2 separate regions of the Homo sapiens genome follow, and region 2 is linked to region 1. Evidence: promoter capture Hi-C in 16 types of primary human blood cells and fetal thymus (Javierre and others, 2016). All regions are on one chromosome and are shown on one strand. The core of a region is centred on a gene start or on the middle of the fragment in contact, and the rest is flanking DNA. Distances in the headings are between cores, read along the strand shown.

Region 1 (3,056 bases), core at 385-2,884:
ACATGGGCAGGCTACTGTTTTGCCATGTGGAATTTTGTGTGCGAAGTGTTTATTCTTTCTATTAAAAAAAAAACCACACCCTTGTTTCTATTGCATTATTACATTCCCTATTATCCCATCACATGTTTTTTCTTCTTGCAGCAACACAGTACACACCCTGTACTATTGCTGACATAAAAATTACTTGTCAAAAATACCTCTATCTTAGCACCACATTACTCATCTGATCTTTGCAAAGCACTGGCCTTTGTTTCACCTGGGACTAGATAACTCAACTGCTTTTACTAGTGACTCCTGAATGCTTGTAGTAGAAGGATAAATGCTAGTGTCACCTATGTTTTTAAAGTCACCTTCCAAAACAAAACTACATTGGAGGTGAATAATAAATCTTTCAAGTTTTTAACTTCATTTTTCAAGGGATTTGGAGGAAAATGGTGAAGAGAGAATCTGTCACAGATACCAAGGTGTTACTGCAATGTAAAAGAGAGTAGACCAGGAGCCTTTGGCCCTCAGCAATCTGTCTTCCTACAAGAAAAATCGAAAGCCCATTTCCATAACCATTCTTATTCCCTGCTACTAGTGTAGGATGCGCAGGACTCTGCCCTCTAGCAGAAAATGCTAATGCCGGAGTGTCCTGCTAAGTCTGAAGGTTACGTTTTTTCATTGCACTCTTATCAAGATAACCCCAGATCTGGCTAGGCTGACATCAAAACAGAACTATCCTTGGAAAGAAAAGAACAGGCCAGAGTTTTTGGAAAAGCCCCAATAACCTAAAGATAAAATCCAGAATGAGAGTCTACTGGTTCATGGCTATCTAAATGGAAACTTCACTCAAGCTGTTTTCTCTGTTCTCTTTCTGCTGCCCCCAACAGCCCTCCCTTCCACCTCCCAGTACTCACTGCTAGCATGTCTCTCTTAATATTGCAAACACTATTACAATGAAGGAACAGAAGAAAGACAGTATTTCATACGAAGGTCACTGCATTTGACCGGTGCTCAATTAGAGCACTGGGCAAAAGTACAATCAGCCTTCCAATGATACCTTTTCAACAAAGGATACCCCACCTCTAGACTGAAGCCTAAATCTATTACTACAGATAAGAAAGCAGGCATCTATGGAAACCTAACATTCAGATACAACTGCCTGTGTATGAATTATATCAAAATTCCCATGAAAGGAAACCAGGTGGGATTTCTACAATCCCAAATTCACCCTGCACCTACCTCCAATGGCTTCTTCAAAGGGAAGGTATAAAGTCATTTGCAATTTATTTCTTTGAACCAGGAGTTTTAGCAGCCCCCACACCTTCTCACAGATAGGAACGATGTTGATGCAGAAACCACCCAAACAGCCCTGTGCCAGCACTGTCGGCCCAAATGACCCAGAGACACCCAGGCGCTACCCAGATCGTGGGGGGTTACCTGTATCTGTCACCGAGTCTCTTTCACCCCTTCTGCGTGATGACATCAAGTGGAAATGGTACACGTTTAGGAGGCAAGAGGCTGACAGGCAGGAAACACAATTGAGACTGAGCTTTCTTCAGCCTGCAGTGAAATACATGCAGGAAGGGTTAGATACGCGCCGCGGAGAAGGAAATCCAAGCGCCCTCCTGGGCAGACGGGGCTGGAGCGGGTGCACTAGGGAGGTGGAGCAAGGCAGATGAGGTGTGGAGGGCTGGCGGCCGAGAAGGGGGCGTCACGGCTCCTAATTGTCTCTACAGGATAAATAACCACCTCCCCCCTCCTCCGCAGTCTCCCCCGCCCACGAGTTCCCCTCTGGTGGCAGAGCGCCTACTAGCAACAGTAAGCCCTAGGAAAGAAAGAAATCGGAGCAGGTGGGGAATAACATCTTGGGGCAAAGACACACTGGCAAAATCTACCAGGTAACCCGGTCATATGGGAATGCGGGGCGCCTAGTCAGCCGCGCAGACAGGCACACAGCGCGGCAATCCCGAGCATCTTTCTTTCGTTTGCCCCTGTCCGCCACCTCATCAAGTCACCGCCACCTCATCAAGTCACCGTCACCTCATCAAGTCACCGTCACTCTGCTTTGGCGATTTCTCTACTCTCTCCAGACCCAGGCAGCGCTCCCCAAGCCATGCCCCGACCCCAGGCGGGATTGGGGACCGCCGCTTCCCGAGCAGCGCCCCACGAGTCCAGCTGGCTTTGTCCTGCCGCTGTCCTTCCAGGAGCAAGCGCCCCAGGCGCGTGTGTCTGCACAAAAGACCCCCAACATCTGGCCCTTCACAGCGCTCTCTAATCCCGGGAGGGGCCCTGGGGCAACTTCTAGGGCTGGAGAAGGCGCGAGACAAGGGGACCGGGAGAAGATGAGCCGGGGTGTGTGCGGGCCGGGGGCGCAACTGGGGCGGGCGCGCGCGCACGTGCACACCCAGGGGCGCGCGCGGCGCGGGCACGAGGAAAGCTCCCTCGGACCGGAGCTCCAGGGGGCATCCGAGGACTCGGCCGAGCAGCCGACAGCGCCGCTCCCCGCCGCGGCCGCCCGCCCAACTCCGCCAGCTCTCAGGAGACACGCAACTCCCGGGACCACCTCCCCCGTGCCCCGCCAGACCCCGCGCTCCCCTCCCCGGGACCCTGCGGCCCCGCCACCCCCTCCGCGGTCCAGAAGATCTCCCCAGTTACAGCAGGCGGCAGCTGCCCTTTCCCGCTTCCACGGCTTCGGCGCGGCCGCCGTAGGGGCGCAGACATCCCTGCGCACCCCTCTGTCCGCCCCCGATCCGGAGCCGGCAGAGCAGAGAAACAAACCGAAACTCACTGACCTTTCTCCGCGGCGGGCTCGGGTGCTCGCTACAGAGGCGGCGGCGGCGGCGACAGCATCGCCGGGTGGTCCCGGCGCGCCCGCTCCTTTCAGCCAGACTCGCGCCCCGGGCCGGCGGCCGCCGCTCCTCCGGCCGAGAGCCACGGGGCGGACGCTGACAGCGCGGCGGCGGCGCCTGCAGCCCCAGCACCCGGCCCGGCCCTTCGGGCGGCACCCCCACCTGCCCGGCCGCCCTCCGCGTTCGCGGTCGGACACCGCCGCCAGGCGCTCGGCACCGAGC
Region 2 (2,943 bases), core at 300-2,799, 180 kb before region 1:
TTTGGGTGCCTGGATTTGGGCATATAGCTAAGCCTTTATATTAGGCTCTGAAAGGAGCAGATGTATATCTTTTTGAATGGGATAGTAACTGTAAACAAGCTTTTAATGCCCTCAAAGAGAAATTGGGATCAGCTCCAGCCCTAGGAATCCCTAATCTTAATAAGCCATTTTTCCTCTATATGACTGAAAAACAGGGAACACCCCTAGGTGTCCTTGTATAGAAGTTGGGAGATATTCCCCAACCAGTGGCATATTTTTCTAAGCAATTAGACCATGTCGCTTTGGGATGGCCTGGATGCCTCAGGGCAGTTGCTGCAACTGCTCTCTTGGTAGATAAAGCCAATAAACTGACTTTAGGACCAGTCTGAAGGTTTTAAACCCACACCAAGTACAAGGAATCCTAGAAGCTAAAGGACACCAGTGAATGACAGGGGGACACTTATTGAAATATCAGGCTTTATTACTAGACACTCCTGATATAACACTTAAAGTATGCTGGACATTGAATCCAGCTACCTACTTGCCTGCACCCACAGGTGCCCTAGATTATTCTTGTACACAAGTTACTCCAGCCATCCAGATTTAAAGGATGAACCTCTAGAAAATCCTGAGTAGAATGGTTTACAGACGGAAGTAGCTTTGTGCACCAGGGAAATGGGAAAGCTGGGTATGCTGTTGTCAGTCAAGACAAGGTAATTGAATCTCAGGCCTACCAGCTTCTACCTCAGCTCAAAATTTGGAATTAGTGGTTTTTATTAGAGCCCTGCAATTGGAAAAGGACTGAAGAATTAGCATTTACACTGATTCTAAGTATGCTTTTCTGGAACTTCATTCTCATGCTGCTATCTGGAAGGAACGGAGACTCCTAACTGCTAAGGGTTCCCCCAATAAAACGTCACGTAGAAATTCTAAATCTATTAGATGCTGTTTTGCTGCCCAAGGAAGTAGCTGTAATCCATTGCAGAGGACATCAAAGAGGAGACTCTAGTGTGGCTAAGGGAAACGCCTTTGCAGATGCAGCTGCTAAGGCAACAGCGTTAAAGGAGCCCGCTGGACTTGTAGGTATGTTAGTGCCCTCACACACGGTAATGACAGAACCTAGGTATACTAAAGAGGAAAAAGAAAGGGCTAAAGGTTATGGTTTAATTCAAAATCCTTCTGACTGGCTTATCAATGACAACAAACTGTTAATACCAGATGCTAATCAGTGGAAAATAGTTAAGCATTTGCATAACTCTACTCATTTGGGAAGAGATTCCCTGTTTCAATTAATGTTGCAGCTTTTTATAGGAAAAGGCTTTCTTAAAACAGTAAAGCAGGTAACTCGGGCCTGTGAATTATGTACCTGGAATAAACCAGATAACCAATCTTTACCTCCTCCTCTAGTAAGGCCTGTTCAGCATAGGGGAACGTACCCTGGTGAAGATTGGCAAATAGACTATACTCAAATGCCCCCATGTAAAGTGTTTTAATATTTATTAGTATTCATTGACACCTTTACTAGTTGGATTGAGGCTTTTTCTACTCAGTCTGAAAAGGCAATTGAGGTTGCTAAACTTCTACGAAAGGAAATAATTCCTAGATTTGGGCTGCCTAAGACTTTGCAGAGTAATAATGGCCCATTTTTCACAGCGACAATTACCCAAAACATATCTTTTGCCTTAGGAATTCAGTACTGCCTTCACTCGGCGTGGAGGCCAGTTTTCAGGGAAAGTAGAAAGAGCTAATCAAACTCTAAAAAGGACTCTTGCTAAATTATGCCAAGAGGCATCAGAAACCTGGCTGTATGTATTACTTGTAGCCTTATTATGGGTTCCAGTGGCCCCCTAAGGGTTCCAGCTCAGCCCTTTTCTATGGAAGGCCTTTCTTAACTACAGACCTCCTAATAGATATAGATACTTTCAAGCTACAAATTATGTGATCAACTTAGGACAAGTGCAAAATGCACTCCTTGAATATGGAAATCAAAGACTTCCTTCCCCCACTAAGGAAGAGAATTTTGTTATAACCCAGCCTGGAAACTGGGTCCCATTAAACACTTGGAAGGAAGGATCCCCAGCAGATCAACTTCCCCAAAATGGAAGGAACCCTATTCAAATTCTTCTTAGTACCCCAACTGCAGTTAAACTTCTGGGAATAAACATCTGGGTCCACTTATCTCGAATTAAACCTGTCTCTTATGAAATCTCACAGGCCGACAGAACACAAGAGACTGATTCCTGTGAGCCAACCAGTGACCTCTGACTGCTGTTCAGAAGAAATAAAAGGGATGGGTAACATAAAGATATGGATTGGCATTCTACTTTTGGGTATAAGTTGGAATCATGCAGATAGTAACTTATTTACCAAGTGGGCACAGACTTTAGCCTCTCTACATAATCACATGAACTGTTGGGTATGTGGAGAATTGCCACTTTCCTCCACTTCCAGGTTGTTCTGGCATATTCAACTGGCCAACCCAAGTTTATAGGAATTTTATTATGATTGGGAAACTGAACATTATAAACACAGCTCCTCTTTTTCCATGTATCATAGCCACACAAGCCTTAGCCCCTTTCCCTCCTATAAAGAGACAAGAAGGCACTTTTTAAATCTAATCAAAAACAGCTAAACTCCACCCCAGCTTTAGGTTATGCTTTACATAATGAACTTGGGTGAATAACAACTGTTCAAGGGCAGGTGTCGGGCAAGGCACCTCCAGGTTTCGAAAGGCACAACAATAGTCACCACCAGACTGAAACCCAGGATACGAGATGGCTGTCATTTCAACAACGTAATCAGACCCTTCTTCTAACAGACCAGATTTGGATGGGATGGCAAAATAATTTGCCAAAAATGAGTGCCTACCCTTCTGCTTCGGGATGGTTATGGGCTTGTAGAACTCATGGCTGGCCATACTTACCTTATAACTGAACTGGAAGGTGTTCGTGGGGTTGTCCTTAT

What was found. The method cuts DNA at HindIII sites, captures the fragments that hold promoters and counts their contacts. A CHiCAGO score of 5 or more calls a contact.
Region 2: a fragment that was not itself captured here is called in contact with the fragment with the promoter of RNF152 in region 1 in 1 of 17 cell types (M0 macrophages); the score reaches 5.7 in M0 macrophages.

The regions. Positions count from the first base shown.
Region 1 is chr18:61,891,373-61,894,428 of GRCh38, forward strand. It overlaps RNF152 (ring finger protein 152), which reads right to left and starts at 1,635. Exons shown (of 2, transcript NM_173557.3): 1 at 1,423-1,635. RefSeq lists silencers at 2,821-2,970, 3,041-3,056. The HindIII fragment of the contact is 8,244 bases long and covers 1-3,056 here.
Region 2 is chr18:61,711,284-61,714,226 of GRCh38, forward strand. No RefSeq gene overlaps it. Among named protein-coding and RNA genes, the nearest start is that of LINC01544, 35 kb to the right of the region's middle. The HindIII fragment of the contact is 2,905 bases long and covers 98-2,943 here.